Linked DNA regions of Homo sapiens: all the other regions are linked to region 3. Evidence: promoter capture Hi-C in 16 types of primary human blood cells and fetal thymus (Javierre and others, 2016). All regions are on one chromosome and are shown on one strand. The core of a region is centred on a gene start or on the middle of the fragment in contact, and the rest is flanking DNA. Distances in the headings are between cores, read along the strand shown.

Region 1 (4,153 bases), core at 722-3,221, 150 kb after region 3:
CATGACTTATAAATAATGCGTATTTTGCAAGCAGTATAGGAGAGATTCTTCCAAGGATAGGAAGTCCTGACTTTTTGGCAGGTTGATATCAACTCTGCCACAGCCTGCTGATAACTCTTTGCATACTGTTCTTTTTCTCAGAATAGCATTTAAATTAGAGTTTCTTTGTTCCATGGTACAGGGTGATAGTTCATATTATGTCACAAGAAATTGTTCAGTTACCTCCCTGTCTTTATTTATATGCACAGCTGCTGGTGTTTCTAGCTAGTCTTCCTGCCTCATTACCTTGGCTGTGTAATTGAATTAGAAAAAGGTATTGAGCAGCTACTACTTCAGAGACTATCATTTTCAAACCACAAATTAGGACACAGAGTCTGGTAGGATTTTTGACTTATGAATCTATTAGGCCGGTGCCATTAATGGCAAAAACCGCAATTACTTTTGTGCCGACCTGTATGATTAATAAAAATCTTAATGGACATGCACACACTAATTTGGTATGCATTTAATAGGCTGACTTAATTTTTTCTTTTCTTTTTCTTAAAAATTTTTTTCACTTTTATTTTTAAAATTCATTTCAGCTAATTAATTAATTGATTTTATTATTTTTTTTAAAGACAGTGTCTAGTCGGGCGTGGTGGCTCACGCCTGTAATCCCAGCACTTGAGGAGGCCAAGGTGGGTGGATCACTTGACGTCAGGAGTTCAAGATCAGGAGTTCTCTACTAAAAACACACACAAAAAAGAATTAGCTGGGCGTGGCGGTGGGCACCTTCTGTAAGCCCAGCCACTCGGGGGGCTGAGGCAGGAGAATGGCGTGAAGCCGGGGGGCAGAGGTTATAGTGAGCCAAGATTGTGCCACTGCACTCCAGCCTGGGCGACAGAGCCAGACTCCGTCTCAAAAAAAAAAAAAAAAAAAAAAAAAGAGACAGTGTCTTGCGTGTTGCCCAGGCTGTTCTCAAACTCCTGGCCTTACGTGATCTTTCTGTCTCAGCCTCCACTGAGATGAAGGACATGAACCGCCACACCTTGCAAGATTGCTTTAAAACTGTAAATAATAAAATTCTGTGAAACTGGCCTTGCCCAAGGCACAGAGGCATGTGAGAGGTAGAGCTTGTACCCAAGTCTGTTGATTTTAATCAGTTTGCTAGATTAGGAAGAAAAGTTACATTCCTGAATCGTATTACCGAATGTCTAAGAGCTTTGCACTTAAAAACAAGAGTGGTGATGTGGGAGCTCTCTTAAGGGACTGTTAAGTGCTTGATGTATGTGACATGCTAGCAGAGCCACAGCTGAAAAGACAGGGACTAACATCAGTGTGACTCTCTTGTCACTTGTTTGATTAAAATATAATCAGAGCAGAAGTGAAATGAGCATTTGTCATATTAAGGAATCTCAAGCATTTGATTCATATTATTCTGTAGCTTGAAATGTCCTTACCTCACTAATGATGTGGTGAAGATTAATTGCCTGTTATTCTGTTTAAAAAGTTAATCATCCAGGCTGGGCACGGTGGCTTACACCTATAATCCCAGCACTTTGGGAGGCTGAGGCAGGAGGATTGCTCAAGCCCAAGAGTTTGAGACTAGCCTGGGCAACACAGTGGGACCCTGTCTCTACAAAAAAAAAAAAAATTTTTTTTTTTTTTGGTAGAGAAACACAGCCAGGTATGGTGGTGCACACCTGTAGCCCTGGCTACTAGGGAAGCTGAGGAGGGAGGATTAATTGAGCCCTGGAGGTTGAGGCCTCAGTGAGCTATGTTTGCGCCACAGCACTCCAGCCTGGGTGACAAAGTGAGACCCTGTCTCAAAAAAATAAAAATAAAAATAAAATAGTAATCATCCAACCTCAAATATCTGTTACTCTTAACTGGACTACTTACATGGTTAAGAGAAGGAGAACTGTGTTTAGGGGCAATATCTCTTCCCTTTGATCTCCTGAGTTGGGGGCAAATAGGAACGCCTTGGAAACTTATTTCTTCCTTGGAGCAGACTCTGGGCCCAGGACTCCTATTTGCCCCACGATAGCTGCTGCCACAGTGCTGCCGTGTACCTACAGCAAACATGTTGTGAGGTGAGTCAGTGTAGCCTGGAATTTATTCACCCAGCTAGTAAAGATTGGGCACTCCCATGCCCCAGGCACCACCCTGGTGGGGACATGGCAGGGGGCAGACATCATCCCAAGGCTGACTCCAGGGCACGGAACTTCCTCTGCATTATGCAAGGCTGTGCAGAGCCAGGCTGCTCCGTGAGCTCCTAGCTTGCAGGGCTTTGTACCAGGTATTCTGTTTACCACGTGGTACTTCTTTTTCTTCTGTAAAAAAAAGGATAATACAAGTACTTGGTGGTGTCATTGGGCAGATGAAAGAAGTTGATACGTGACACATAGTAAACATGCAATAAAGCAGTTACTATGAACTTTAGAATTATTGCTGTTTCCAACTGCTGTTACTTTATTATGAGAGGCAGTAGGTACAATGTTTAAGGGCAAAGATCTGAAGCAGACTGCCTGGGTTTGAAGCCCAGCTGTGGGAGCTGAGCAAGTTACTTAACTTCTCTGTGCTTCACTCAGTTTCCTGCCTCGTGAAGTTGTAAGGATTAGATAAGTTATATGTAAAATGCTTAGAGCAGTGCTTGGTATGTAATAAGAATTAGCTGTTACGTGAGAATAATAATAATGTATTTCATTCATTCAACAAATACTTGGGGGCTGCCCATGCCATGCATCATGGCACTCTACTAGGTCTTGGGGCAGAATGGTGAATAAGACTTGGTCCTAGGGGTCAGTTTAATCAGGGAGCCAGGCACTCAGGTAATGCTGTTAGAGCAGGCTTCTTAGCAAGATGATGCCTGACCTGTGCTGGGTGAGAGTTTAGTAGGCATAGAGTTGGGTTGAGGTAGGGAGGAGTTCATAGAAGAATACCCTAAGCTGGGGGACAGTGGGAATGTAGGTACTGAAGATCCCACCTCACACACACACTGTGGAAAAACAGAAACAAAGCACAGCATGGTATGCACAGAAAATGGTGTGGTGGGAACCTCAAAACGGAGAAAGCAGGGGTTAGAGATGGACAAGGACAGGTCAGGGAAGCCTCGCTAAGATTTGCACTTCAAATGCATGCGCAGCTACCTTGAGGGGTTCCAGACCAGGCTTGTGAAGGCAGCCACTGTCCTCTGACCGCCCGTCTCCCTGGGATGAGGGCAACCAGAGCCCTTTTTGTGCCCTGGAGGATGGATGCCCTGAGCATCTCAGAGAGCCTGGGCTGCCCAGGCCTTTCCCTTTCCCCTTTCCCCTTTCCCCTTTCCCCTTTCCCCTCCCCTCTCCCCCCTCCCCCTCCCCCTCCCCCTCCCCCTCCCCCTCCCCCTCCCCCCTCCCCCCCTCCCCCCTCCCCTCCCTCTCCCACTCCCCCTTCCCTTTCCTTCCCTTCTCTTTCTTTGTCTTGCTCTGTTACGCAGGCTGTAGTGCAGTAACGCAGTCACGGCTCACTGCAGCCTTGACCTCCTGAGCTTAAGCGATCCTCCTGCCTCCGGCTCTCGAGAGTAGCCTGGACCACAGGCATGTGCCACCACGTCCAGCTAATGTTTTGATTTTGTGTAGAGATGGGGTCTCGCTATGTTGTCCAGGCTGGCCTCTAACTCCCGGGCTCAAGCAGTCCTCCCTCCTTGGCCTCCCAAAGTGCTGGGATTATAGGCATGAGCCACCACACCTGGTCTTCAAAGGGACTTTTGGTGAGGATCAGAGATAGGAGCCACCATTCTAGGGTTCCTGGAGTTTGTGAGGGAAAGAGGACAGAACCGTTTTGGTAATGCTTACGGGAAGCACTTCCTGAGAGAGAAAGAATAAAAAGCAGTTACCCAAGAGAATTTCCTGCTCAGCCTCAAGACAAGCCCTGACCCTGGGGACTACTGACATGTCCCACCTGTGGCTGGGAGGGTTTTCTGAGGTGGGAGGTCTAGACAGAGCAGGGGGCTTGGGAGCCCTGATGGAAAGTGCAGGGAATTCAGAACACAAACATAGGGTAGGTTCTACTTGTGAGAACACAACCTAGACTCTCGCCTGCAAACTAAAAGGGAAATCTGGTCTTACCATGTGAGATTTTCCACAGCAGAGTAAAATGCATTTGGGAAATCGAACAGAAGTTATTTAAATTCCCT
Region 2 (4,743 bases), core at 1,327-3,826, 170 kb after region 3:
GACTATTAAAAACAAACATTTGAGGCTGGGCACGGTGGCTCACGCCTGTAATCCTAGCACTTTGGGAGGCCAAGGCGGGCGGATCACAAGGTCAGGAGATCGAGATCATCCTGGCTAACAAGGTGAAACTCCGTCTCTACTAAAAATGTAAAAAATTAGCCGGGCGTGGTGGCGGGTGCCTGTAGTCCCAGCTACTCCGCAGGCTGAGGCAGGAGAATGGTGTGAACCTGGGAGGCGGAGCTTGCAATGAGCCAATATCACACCACTGCACTCCATCCGGGTGACAGACTGAGACTCCGTCTCAAAAAAAAAAAAAAAAAGAACAGCAAAACAAAAAACAAAATTTGAAAGTTGTACTGCCATCACATTTCATAAAAGAAAATATTTTTACACCAAAAACGTAGGAAGGACATAATCTAAGAATAAAGGACAGTTTCTTTATTTTGAATAAATTAAGCTTTATGAAAAATTCAGTGCATTGTTTGTTTTTTTGTCATTCTTGCTGCAGGTCAATGAAAACTGATAGATCCACGGGCAGGCATTTGGGAACCCATCAGTTAAAGATATCTTGGGTTTCTTCTGTCTCCCAGAGTCTTTTAAATAATTGGCATTTTTTTCCTTCTGTTTTTTGGTATCATAGCTTCATATCTTTATGCAGTTTGAAAATTAACCTTAGGCCACACCTTCACCACCAAGGATTATGTGGGTAAAGACAATGATCCGAACGGCTTTTCCCAGAGGCACACCTGAATTATGCAACAGGAGTGGGAGTGAGCATTGTTGGAATTACCTGGAGTTCCCAAAGCAGCAGGAGAGCACAGGTGTCCGGAAAATAGCTAAGGTCTCTGCAGACATAGCAAGGTGGAAAAGGTGAGAATTGTTTAGATAAACAATTATTCCAAACTCTCACCGGAAATAACTACGATATGTTTATTTTCTTTAAATCAATTAAATTCTCCTTAGTTTTTCTGTAGAAACAGCCATTTTATTTTTTGAGACTTTTTTTTAAATTTTTTATTTTATTTTATTTGCTCTGTCACCTAAGCTGGAGAGCAATGGTGTGATCACAGTTCGCTGCAGCCTTGCCTTCCCAGGCCTAAGTGATCCTCCCACCTCAGCCTCCCAAGTAGCTGGGACTACATGTGAAGACCACCATGCCTGGCAATTTTTTTTTTTTTTTTTTTTTTTTTTAAGGAGATGGGGTCTCAGTATATTGCCCAGGCTGGTCTCGAACTCCTGGACTCAAGCAATCATCCCACTTGTCCTCCCACAGTGTTGTGATTATAGCACCCAACCAGAAACAGCCATTTTAAACCAAACTTTATTTTTTAGGTGTCTTCCCAAATAGTATTATCCCCAAGAACCCTACTGATAAATTTAGGGAGCAGGTACAAATTTCCCTCTTCATTTCATTCTGACCTGAGTCATTGATTCACGATTGGCCTAGAATAGTCCAAAATAAATTTTTGTTTTTGTTTTTTTTCCTGAATATCTCCTTAACCAGGCCCTAATCAGAATTTATGTAATCTACTTGGTGAAAAATCAAGACTTAATGAGATATCTCTTTATATAGCAAATTAACAGTTTTTAAAATGTTGGTCACTTTAGGAGCTCATATGCAACTGAATTCATATTTATTGAGTAACCAAGGGATTGGTGGGGAGGTGGTACCTTTGTCTGTTGTCCTGAGGGCAGCCCTTTATTCTTTGTGTGCAGTGATCAATTTGTCTAGGACAAGGCGGCAGTAACCACATTCCCTTTACAACTAAGGGAACAAGTACCCTCCTCCATGGAAGGAGCTTATTTGCCTGTTTGTTTTTCCCTGGGGATAGATGTAGACATGAAATAAACATCTTCCTCTTCTGAAGTGAAGATGGTTCTAGCAGTGCTGTGTTTCTTTAAAATTGGGTTTACCATAAGAATCATTATTACTTCATTCATTAATTGTTTGTTTGTTTTCTTTTTTGGGAGCCAGGGTCTGGCTCTGTTGCCCAGGCTGGAGTGCAGTGGCATGATCATGGCTCACTGCAACCTCGACCTGCTTGGCTTAAGCAATCCTCCCACCTCAGCAGGAACTACAGGCACGTACCAACCAACATGCTTGGCTAATTTTAAAAAAATTTTTTGTAGAGATGAGGTCTCACTAGATTGCCCAGGCTGGTTTCGAACTCCTGAGCTCAAGGGGTCCACCCACCTTATTCTCCCGAAGTGCTAGGACTACAGGCTTGAGCCACCACAACCTGCTCGTTCATTCAATTTTGATTAGGTCCTTACCAATTAGAAAAGATACTTTAAAAATCCACCTAAGGGAATTAGGTTTTCGAGTATGCAAAGCATCAGAGAATCTAAGTTAGAAGAGGCTGCCAATTTAGGGTTGCCAGATAAAATTCAGGACTGCTGGTTAAGTTTGAATTTCAGATAAACAACAAGTTACTTTTTACTATAAGTATGTACCAAATATTACTGGGGAACATACTTATTTGGAACATACTTAAAAAAATTCTTGTTTGAATGACTTTCCAATTTAACTAGTTTTCTGTGTTTTTATTTGCTAAATCTGGCTACCAGTAATAATATTAACGCAACAGTACCTGCTTATCTTAGACATTCTAGCTTTTGATTAAGAGTATGGGCGTGGGATCCAGACTGCCTGAGTTTGAATCCTAGCTCTGCCACTTATAGTGTGTGACCTTAAGCAACTTTTAAAAATTTCTCCGTGCCTCAGTTTCCCTGTACAGGCTGAGTATCCTTAATCTGAAAATTCCAAATTTGAAATGCTGCAAAGTTTGAAATGTTTTGATAATCGACACGATGCTCTTCAGAGCATTTCGATTTTGGATTTTTGGGTTAGGGATGCTGAACTGGTGGTGAGTGTAATGCAAACGTTCCAAAATATGAAAAAAAGCACAATCTGCAAAAAGCATTTTGGATAAGGGACAGTCAACCTGAAGTCAAATAGGTTGTTATTTGGTGCTAAGATGTAAATGTATATGTGTTTAATTAATTTTATGACGCCTTATTGAGTCTTGGCTACGGCATCATGGACGTCTTACCTGCTTGATAATTTTAACAGTACATGTATGTGTCCTAAATTTTCACTAATCTATCATTGGCCTCATCTGACTTTGGCAATTGGGAATACATTTTCCATGGCCCTTCTTCCATAACTCTTCAGTAATTTTCAGTTATGGCTCAATCACTGTCTCATCAGCATTTTCTCTTAGCACTATGGCCTGCCCTTAGACCAGAACTGGGCACTGCTGAAGTGGTCTTAAAACCACTTCATCTTCCCTAATAGCAATTCATGTTCCACCCCTTCAAGTATGAAGATCTTTCTGGTCAGTGACAAAGAGAAGTAAAAGCATAATCATGTCATTCTGCATGCTTACCTTTGTATATGCACAATAATCTAAAATATTATCTTTAAAAAAATTATATGATTATATGATCCATCTCACATTGATTTGTATTAAGTAGTAATAACACTGTGTCTAATAGAAACTAACAAACCATTGCCTCTAAAACAGCACCTGGCATGTTAAGCCACACTTGAAACATGCATCATGATTTGAGATATTACATGATAAAACATGTGCCTTAGAGGATATTAATTAAGGAAAAGCCATTACTATGTGCTGTGCTCACAGTGCTGAGTGTTCTATAATTATTTTATTTAAGTAAAATGAGACTATCAGGTAGGTCCTATTTTATCTCCATCAGCACCAGCCAATCTGACTGAACACCTGGGCTGGTTTTCATGGTACACAGGTCTTAATATGTAAATATAAAAATGTTCTCCTGTGGGAGGAAATCTCATAGTTTTAAGTCTTTATCTAAAACTATATATTTGTAAATAACTTTCTGTTTAACAATTTATTTGTAAAATTTCTAAACACCTTGAAATTGATCATTGAAAGAAACAGTTTTGAATGTCTCTGTGTGTTGTTTAGATTTTTTTTCTCCATGAAGTCAAGAAGTTATATTTATTCTCTCCATGAAGTCAAGAAGTTATATATATTCTATTTATTTTGTTCACTGTCATATCCCGAGCATCTAAAACAGTGCCTGGCATGTTAAGTAAGCACCCAATTCAAATTAGTTGATTGTTGAATGAATAATTGGAAATATTTTTCATGTGATCATAAGTCTTCATTTATTTTCATATATTAAAATGTGTAAAATTTTTAAGGCCCAGCATAAGCATAGCCTCTCTGAGAGGCCATCTTGTATTCCCCAAGCAGAAATAATACCTTCTTTCCCTAAACCTGATGTAGGTGGGTTTATAATTTTCTTCTCTGAAAACTACCTTATTTATGATTATTACTGTTATTTTGAGACAAGGTCTCTTTCTGTCACCCAGGCTGGAATGCGGTGACGTGATCTTGGCTTGCTGTAACCTCTGATCTGGGCTCACTGCAACCTCCGACTCCTGGCCTCAAGCAATCCTCCCGCCTCAGCCTGCCCAGTAGCTGGGACTGCAGGCACACGCCCCCATGCCTGGCTAATGTTTTTGTTTTTGTTTTTGTTTTTTTAGAGATGGAGTTTTGCTATGTTGCCCAGGCCGGCCTCAAACTCCTGGCCTAAAGCGATCCACCCCCTTGGCCTTCTAACATGCTGGGAGTACAGACAGGCATGAGCCACTGCACCTGGCCAGAAAATTACCTCATTGATGCCTTTTAATTCCTCTAAGCTTCTGGAGAACAGAGCTGTTAGTTCATCTTGTATCCCTGTATTTGTTAAATA
Region 3 (4,053 bases), core at 224-2,723:
CATTGGAAACTGTGTCTTCCCAACCCACGTTCTTATACAGATGAAATCAGATTCGAATGAAAATCAAGGGTAGCTTTAAGTAGAAAGTCAGAAGGGGCAACCAGGGGTACCTGTGAGAGGGTACGTCCTCCATTCCCCTCCGTGGAAGAGGGAAGTTTATAGACAGTGGATATGGAAGGGGGCCTAAGTGTCCTTTTTAGTACCAGTCAACGCTAAAAATATTATAAGTGCCAAGGAACCCGCCCCCCCCAACACACACACACACACATACACACACGCGCATTCAGTGACAGGGCCCAGAAGGCAGATACAATGTGCAAATCTGGGGATGGTTCTCAATAAAGAATATATTTACTCTACAAACCTCTTATTTTAAAAGCAAGTTGCAAATGTTTGCCCTTGCTTCTGAGAGAGCTGCACTTTTGTGGATTCGAATCATTCTAGCATTATTTCTGGTTACTCCTATGAAATAATTTCCAACACTGCCGTACGCAGACTTTGAGCTGAGGACGAGAGCGCACGCGCACACACGCACACACACACACGCGCGCACACACACACATAAACCTCGTGCACATTGAAGAAATGACTCACTTAATTTGCTGCTGCCTGCCACGATTGGGTTTTGATTTTACCTGTTCAAATACAAAGTTTCCTATTAGATTAACTACAGGAAAGAAGAACTTAGGAGCATTAATCCTGATTTTGTTCATGTCTTTAGGGCACCAAAGAGGTTTTAACCTGTGCATCTTAAGAAGCCATTCTCCGGACCACCGACTGCTTGCTCCATAATCTTCCAGACAACGATAACATTTCTTACCACTTTAGGAGCCAATTAATGGAAACCCCTCCTAGAATAAACATGGTTAAGCTTTGCATCTCCGGTACCTGCAGAACCGTACTTTAGGGCTCTTTCTCAGCTCGCAGTAGGATGGCACAACAGCATTCTGGAACTGCAAAGACCCCCTAGCCTCTCGTTTGAAAGATGAGAAAAAGCGAAGGGGCGGAAGAGCAGATGGTTAACCTACCCAAGGTCACTCACTCTGAGTAGTGGGTCGGCTGACTCGCCTTTACCCCTGGCAATCCGTGCACCACCCCAGCTCCCCCAAACAGTCCCTCCGGGCGTCGGTTGGTTCGCTAGCATGCAGCCCCCGCGAAAATGCAACGCCAGTTGCGCTCTGTGCCCAACTTCAGCCCTTCGCGTCACATGCAGTTAACCCTCTCGCCCGCGGCATGTCACATGGGCCACGCGCAGCTCTCTCTACCCCACGCCTATCTCCTGAGAGGCTGCCCCAAGGTCACCGGCCGTCCCAGAGAGCTCCCGCCGCCCAGCCCCAGAGGCCGCCCGGCCGGGGTTCCCAGAGCGCGGCACTCACCGGCGCGGGGGGTGGGCGCGCCGCGGCTGCCCATGTCCTCGCCGGCGCGGCTGGGTGCGGCGGCCGCTGGCGCTGGCTGAGCAGGGCGCCCGGCTGCGGGCCCGCGCCGCGGGGAGCGCCGTCCAATCAGCGCGCGCCTGCCGCCTGGCCCGGCGCGCGGCCCGGCCGGGTTCGCGGCTCCCGGGGGGCGCGAGCCGCCGCGCGCCGCCGGAGCCGCTTCCGGGCGCGTTGCCTGGACGCGGTTGCCGTGGCAGCCCGAGCTGGAGGCTTTCCCCGCGCACCCGCGCCCAGCCTGGCGGCGCCGCCCCTCCTCCCTCCTCGTTCCCACACCCAAAATAGCCTCTGCTCGTCGCTGCTGTTTCCCACAGAGCTCGCATCCAAGCGCCTTGGAGTTGGCGGGCGGGGATTTCGCTCATTGGAAAATAAATCCTGTTGTAGGGATGGTTGATTTGGAGAGGTGTTGAAATGGTGCCTGACGGAGATCATAGCCATGGTGGTGGCACTGCAATTCTCTCTAGAGCCCCAATATACCTTATTTACTAAACCGCTTTCCCACAAAAATAGTTCTCTCCCCCGCCCCACCTCAAATTGGGGAGAAGTTATTTGATTAGGCCACGGTGACGCCCCACCTGTGCAGGTGAACGAACCCTCCGGGGCTGCCATGTGTCATTTACTGAATCGCCTTGACACCTGCAGTTGGGACCCAGGATCGTGTCTCATCGCAGCAGACACGACGAGAAGAAGAACCCCGAACACCCCTCCTCTTCCCAGCCCTTTCTTCTCCCGTCAGCTTCATCCCCTCCCAGCGCGTCCTGGCTCTTTCCACCTTCCTCTCGATTTTGGATTCTCATCAGGACGCACAAGCCCATTCACTCATAATTGTGCTTCCTCTCGGTGGGCAGGATTTCAGCGGAGTTGCGGGGGACACGACCTTTGCCTCATCTGGTTCGTGCCTCCTTCGCAGATACTGGTACTTACCCAGCACAGGGGCTCCTGTCTGTCTCCCCCACCCCGCCCCAGCCTGAGCCCTTCCAACCCAGGGGAAGGAGCCCGACATGGTAGAAGAGCCCGAACTGTGGATTCGGCTGAGCGGTTTTGGAATTCTCTCTCCGGCAGCATTATTATTTAGGGGCTATTAGTATTAAGGACTGTTATTTGTGTGTGATCTTTGAAATATTTGTGGGTATTCTGCGACTGTTTCCTCACCAGTAAAACGGGCTAATAACTTCCACAAAGCGCTAACGCATCTGTAACATTCATTCAGCCAACAGTATCTATTGGATGGCTGCCAAGTGCTAGAAACTATGCTTAGCCCTGAGACACAATGGTGAAGATGAAAAAGAGACACATCACTTTCTGATCCCACAGAGCTTAGAGCCTGACGAGCATTCATCAAATAATCACAGACACATGTTAACACTGCCGTTGTGACCAGGAGAGTAATGGCCTTGAGTCTTGTGATGTGTAGATCTGGTATAACAGCATCTCTTTAGTGCTGCAAAAGCTCAATGATTATTCTTTCCTTTCTCGGTTAGATTCCCACTGCCTGGTGCATGGTATGTACTAGGTAAATACATATTGAATTGGATCCTATGTCATGGTGATGACACTGTCACTCTGCTTCCCAGTGACCTTCTGGCTGTAACTGGCCACAACATCTGGAAAGGTGTGCATGTGTTAGCAGAAAGTACCCATTCAAACCTAGAGTCCATCACCAAGAGTCTAGAAAAAGGTTCAAAATATTTCTTGCCTGTCTCCATCGGGGTGCCTTTCAGTGCATATGGAGAGCATCTCAGATGGACACATAACGTCCCCTCTGTCTTGTTTCTTCCTCTTCTTATTACTCTACCCTTTCCCCGCCCACCCCAATACTGACCCTACTCCCTCTACTACTTGAGGTGCCAGAGCCTCAAGGCACCCCTTCCTGGCTTCCTAGGAGAGTGATAGTAGATCCTAATATTCCTCAGAATGGAACACCTATAAAACAGAGGAAGTGCCTTCTTACTTCTGGCCATCAAAACTGAACTTTGATTTTTCATTTGCTGCAAGACTCCCTCACTCTCAAAGGTAGGGAAGGAGAGGACCTGGAAGGTGAGGGGCTCTTGCCATATGTAGGCACCTTCTATTTAGGCTGACTTTCATTTCCTTTTTAAAAATCATAACAGTTAGCAAATAAGACAAATAATTGTATTAATAATTATTTCAAAACATGAATTTCTCAGTAAGAACCGGGCTTTCAAAGTGGTCTTGAATCAGGCCCATGACTTCCCACTTCTTATTTATCTTTTTTCTTAAGTGATTTGTTTTGAATCCCAAGGGGACAAAATTTAATGCACAATGATTAAGCCTACACTAGTTTCTTTCCAACTCTTTCCCTATTTTTGTAGGCTAAATTGCAACGAAATATCCATTTTTTCCAGAATCACTTTGATTGTAACTCATTACAGGAGATGGAGATTTTCTTGCATTACTTCAATTAAAAAGCCATGATTTATCACAAATTATTTTATGCTGCAAGGATTACCAAAAAAATTATCAAAGAGAACAATTCTATATACTTGATGGCTGTAATACTATTTACAAAGCAGTTATTTAAATACAAATAATTTGTTCAGTATATTATGCTAGACACCATGGAAATTCATTTTTCTTCTTTCTTTTGAGACAGAGTCTCACT
Region 4 (4,680 bases), core at 1,678-4,177, 130 kb after region 3:
GCAAGGTTTTTCACAGCAGTAGTGACAGCTGCTCCTTTATGCTTCTGTTTCTTCATTTGTGTTGTCCCTGGAAAGTCCCCCTCGTCCCAGTGGCTGAGTCCTCTGCTTCCTCCAGGCTCGGCCCAAGTTCCTGTTCCTCCACGGAACCTTTCCTGATTAGTGCACACGATCTTTTCTCTTCTCTGAACTCTTTCAGTTGTAAAAATGAAACCCTAAAATTTCTTTTGTTGCCTTGTAGTATGCTCAGATTGATGCATGATAATTGTTTTCCCAACTAGACTGAACTGATTTGATTTGTGAACACGATCATCCCTTAGATGCTCTTATGTGTGTTCTTGAACTTAGCACAGAGCCAAGCACAGGACTCAATTATTTATTTTGTGATGAAAGTTCAAAGTGAATTAAGAGAGAAAATATATTGCTGAGTGTTGTAGTCCATTTGGTTTGCTATAGCTGAATACCACAGACTGGGTAATTTATAATGAAAAGGAATTTTATTTCTCCTGGTCCTGGAGGCTGGGAAGTTCATGATCGAGGGGCTGCATCTAGTGAGGGCCTTCTTGCTGCTTCAACACGGCAGAAAGCAACATATGGCAAGTGCGTGCACGAGAAAGAGTGAGAAAGTGTGTGAGAGATAGCAAGACAGGGCCACACTCACTTTTAAAACAAACCCACTCCCACAATAACAGCATCCATTTATTTATGAGGGCAGAGTCCTCATGACCTAGTCACTTCTTAAAGGTTCCCCCTTTTTCTACCTTCAGCACTGTCGCATTGGGGATTGAGTTTTCAGCACATGAACTTTGGAAGACACGTTTAAATCATAACGTTGCCTATAACACCAACTGGGCTTGCCTGATATATAGTGCCAGAGATACCCACCAAATTAAGCTTTATGGTTCTTATATGGTAAACTCATGTGATTTCTGTGCCCAAAGCTGCAGGTCCTTCTGCCTGCTTCAGAACTGCCCAAACTTCTGGTCTTCTAGAGCAGGGGTCCCCAACCCCTGGGCAATACGGTCCGTGGCCTGTTAGGAACTGGGATGCACAGCAGGAAGTAAGCATGCATGAGTGAGCATTACTGTCTGAGCTCTGCCTCCTGTCAGATCAGTGGCGGCATTAGATTCTCATAGGAGCCCGAACCCTGTTATGAACTGCGCATGTGAGGGACCTAGGTGACGTGTTCCTTATTAGAATCTAATGCCTGATGATGTGAGGTGGAACGGTTTCAACCTGAAACCGTTCCACTCCTATGACTGTCATGGAAAAATTGTCTTCCACAAAACCTGTCCCTGGTGTCAAAAACGTTGGAGACTGCTGTTCTAGAGTAAGGACCTTGTGGTTTTGCTCGTTATGATGGACATCCAGGGCCACCCTGGATGGTTGCCTTGACCATGCCTGTTGTCTACTGTGCATGAGAATCAGTTGCTGGACTCCAGGGCAGAGTGATGGCTGGAGGTCAGCATGCAGGCAGGGAAGTGGAGGGGGAAGATGATCATGAGTACATGAGTACGTGGGACAGGCAGGTTGGGGCCAGACTTGAGAGGGCTTACATGGCACACTAAGGGCTTGCTTGGAATTTGTCCTACAGAAAGTGGAGGTTTTTAACAAAATCACATTTGTTCTTTAGAACCATAATTCTGAGACCACTAGCTTCTTACAGAGTATATATACGAAACTACCAAAGGCAACTTGGTGAAGCAGAGGAATTTGGGCACGAAGGCTTGTTTCATCTTGGTGGTCAGCCCTTCCCACCTTTCTTTAGATACTATAATTCATTTCCTAGGGCTGCCTTAACAAATTGCTATGAACTGGTGGCTTAAAACAACAGAAATGTGTTCTCACAATTCCGAAGGCTAGGATTCAAAATCAGCATGGGCATCAGGACCACGCTCCTTCCGAAGGTTGGGGAGATTCTGTTCCATGCTTTTGCTCAGCTTCTAGTGTTGCTGGCCAGCCTTGGCATTCCTTGGCTTGTGGCTGTGTCGCCCCAATCTCTGCCTCCATCATCACATGACCTTCTCCCTGTGTCTGTTTCTGTGTCTCTTCTCTTCTTTAAGGACGTGAGTTATCTTGGATTAAGGCCCGCTTTGCTGACTTCGTCTTAACTTGATTCTATCCGCAAAGACTATTTCCAAATTAGGTCACATTCACAGATACTGTGGCCTAGGACTTCAACATGTCTTTTTTGGAGGCAACACAGTGCAACCCACAACAGATACACACTTCGCTGCACCTTATCATTTTAGGACTCAAGGGGGCAGTGGGTTTGCTGCCACACTCAAGCTGGTCAACTTGGCAGTGTCATGTGTTCTTCGTGAGCGCTAGGAAGCTGCCTGGACCTAGAGTAAGTAATACTAGCAGCTCACTTAAGTAATTATGAAGGGAAGGTGCACAGGACCTAAGCAGCAGGCTGTGGAGAACTGACCAAAAAGACGAGTTAGGGCGCTATTGCAGGTGAGAAATAAGGGGACCTTAAGTAAGGCAGTGGCTGTGAGAACAGAGAGGAAAGGGGAGTAGTCGAGGGGTGGGTCTGAAGGAGAACCACTAAGATCTGATGTAGTGGGAGGAAGGATCAAGGGTGATTCTTAGCCTATTTACAAATGTGGTGGGTGGGGTATATAATCCCTATCAGTATATACGAAGGCCTATCCAGACAAGCTTCTCTTTGTCTCTACCCACTTAAGTTATGCTTTATGTGCTGCCAAGAAGGGTAAAAAGGTGAAAATGATATGGAAGAAACCGAAGGGCAACCTTAGAAATGCATGTGAATAAAGATATTTTAAAGGCAGAAAGACACACATTTGGCCTTTCTGGGAAGATTTCTCTAAACGGAGTGTAGATGTCTCAGGGAATGGCAGCTACTGCCATACTGAGTGGACTTCTCACAAGGCGGTTCTAGGGCCGTCGTCCAGCCTGAGAATACACAGCTGGCTGACCTCCAGGGAGACTCAAAAATTCTTAGTGAACCTGTGTTGCAGGTCATGGCATCACCATCATGATGTCCTGTTATTCTTCAGTAGCATTTAGTAAACAGTTTTTGCATCTGTTTAGTTTACACAGCAATCTTGGAACAATGGAAAATCCTTTGACAAGTCAGAAAATTCAAGTCCTGTTTGTTGTTGTTGTTGTTTTAGTTGCTTTTTTGGGGGTTGTAGTATTGTGAGGAGACACTTAACTTATGGAAGCTTCATTTTGTTTTCAGTAAATGGAGCAGCAACACCATTCTTGTAGCATTACTCTGAGGATAGACATCAGTTAATGTATGTAAGGTGCCGGGCTCAGAGCTAGTGCATAGTACACAATCATCCCTTTTCTCCCTCCCCATCAATCTTCCTTCTCTTCTTTCTTCCAGGTTTTTTTCTTTTAATTTATTTTTAGAGACAAGGTCTCACTCTGTCACCCAGGCTGGAGTGCAGTGGTGTGATCATGGCTTACTGTAGCTTCCGAACTCCCAGGCTCAAGCTATCCTCCCACCTCAGCCTCCCAAGTAGCTGGGACCACAGGCATGCGTCACCAAGCCCAGCTAATCGAACAGGTTTTCTGACTCTCTGAGGCCCAGAGCTCTTTCTGCAATTCTGCCTCTCTGGGGCTAAAATATAAATATATAATAAATAAATAATAAACAAATCCCTCTAGAGGATTTTTTTTTTTTGAGATGGAGTTTTGCTCTTGTCACCAGGTTGAAGTGCAATGGCACAATTACCGCTCACTGTGACCTCCGTCTCCTGGGTTCAAGCAATTCTTCTGCCTCAGCCTCCCGAGTAGCTGGGATTAGGGGCACCTGCCACCATGCCCAGCTAATTTTTTTTTTTTTTTTTTGAGATGGTGTCTTGCTCTGTCACCCAGGCTGGAGAGCAGTGGTGCAATGTCGGCTCACTGCAACCTCCACCTCCCGGGTTCAAGTGATTCTCCTGCCTCAGCCTCCCATGTAGCTGGGATTACAGGTGTGGGCCCCCACACCTGGCTAATTTTTGTATTTTTAGTAGAGACGGGGTTTTGCTATGTTGGCCAGGCTGGTTTCGAACTGCTGACCTCAGGTGATCCACCCGCCTTGGCCTCCCAAAGTGCTGGGATTACAGGCGTGAGCCATTGTGCCCAGCCTAATGTTTGTATTTTTAGTAGAGATGAGGTTTCACCATGTTGGCCATGCTGGTCTCGAACTCCTGACCTCAGGCGATCTGCCCCCCTCAGCCTCCCAAAGTGCTGGGATTACAGGTGTGAGCCACCATGCCCAGCCTATTTTTTTTTTTTTTTTTTTTTTTTTTTTTGAGACAGAGTCTCACTCTGTCACCCAAGCTGGAGTGCAGTGGCATGATCTTGGCTTACTGCAACCTCTGCCTCCTGGGTTCAGGTGATTCTCATGCCTCAGCCTCCCGAGTAGCTGGGACTACAGATGCATGCCACCACATCCGGCTAATTTTTGTTTTTTGTTTTTTAATAGAGACAGGGTTTCACCATGTTGGCCAGGATGGCCTTGAACTCCTGACCTCAAGTGATCCGCTCACCTTGGCCTCCCCAAGTGCTGGGATTACAGGCGTGAGCCACCGCGCCAGCCCCAAGGATTTGTTTTAAACTCACTGGAGCCAGGCGTGGTGGCTCACGCCTGTAATCCCAGCACTTTGGGAGGCTGAGGCGGGTGGATCGCCTGAGGTCAGGAGTTCAAGACCAGCCTGACCA

What was found. The method cuts DNA at HindIII sites, captures the fragments that hold promoters and counts their contacts. A CHiCAGO score of 5 or more calls a contact.
Region 1: a contact is called between a fragment that was not itself captured here and the fragment with the promoter of FAM81A in region 3, in 1 of 17 cell types (naive B cells). The highest score is 5.1, in naive B cells.
Region 2: a fragment that was not itself captured here is called in contact with the fragment with the promoter of FAM81A in region 3 in 1 of 17 cell types (naive B cells); the score reaches 5.6 in naive B cells.
Region 4: a contact is called between a fragment that was not itself captured here and the fragment with the promoter of FAM81A in region 3, in 1 of 17 cell types (total B cells). The highest score is 5.4, in total B cells.

Annotation. Positions count from the first base shown.
Region 1 is chr15:59,282,122-59,286,274 of GRCh38, reverse strand. The region is part of intron 1 of MYO1E (myosin IE); the gene reads left to right. Among named protein-coding and RNA genes, the nearest start is that of LDHAL6B, 77 kb to the right of the region's middle. RefSeq lists a silencer at 4,031-4,153. The HindIII fragment of the contact is 5,735 bases long and covers 1-4,153 here.
Region 2 is chr15:59,262,241-59,266,983 of GRCh38, reverse strand. The region is part of intron 2 of MYO1E (myosin IE); the gene reads left to right. Among named protein-coding and RNA genes, the nearest start is that of LDHAL6B, 58 kb to the right of the region's middle. The HindIII fragment of the contact is 4,233 bases long and covers 460-4,692 here.
Region 3 is chr15:59,435,606-59,439,658 of GRCh38, reverse strand. FAM81A (family with sequence similarity 81 member A) reads right to left here and starts at 1,473. Exons shown (of 9, transcript NM_152450.3): 1 at 1,377-1,473. RefSeq lists a silencer at 1,246-1,775. The HindIII fragment of the contact is 11,804 bases long and covers 874-4,053 here.
Region 4 is chr15:59,307,814-59,312,493 of GRCh38, reverse strand. All of the region lies in intron 1 of MYO1E (myosin IE), which reads left to right. Among named protein-coding and RNA genes, the nearest start is that of MYO1E, 63 kb to the left of the region's middle. The HindIII fragment of the contact is 527 bases long and covers 2,664-3,190 here.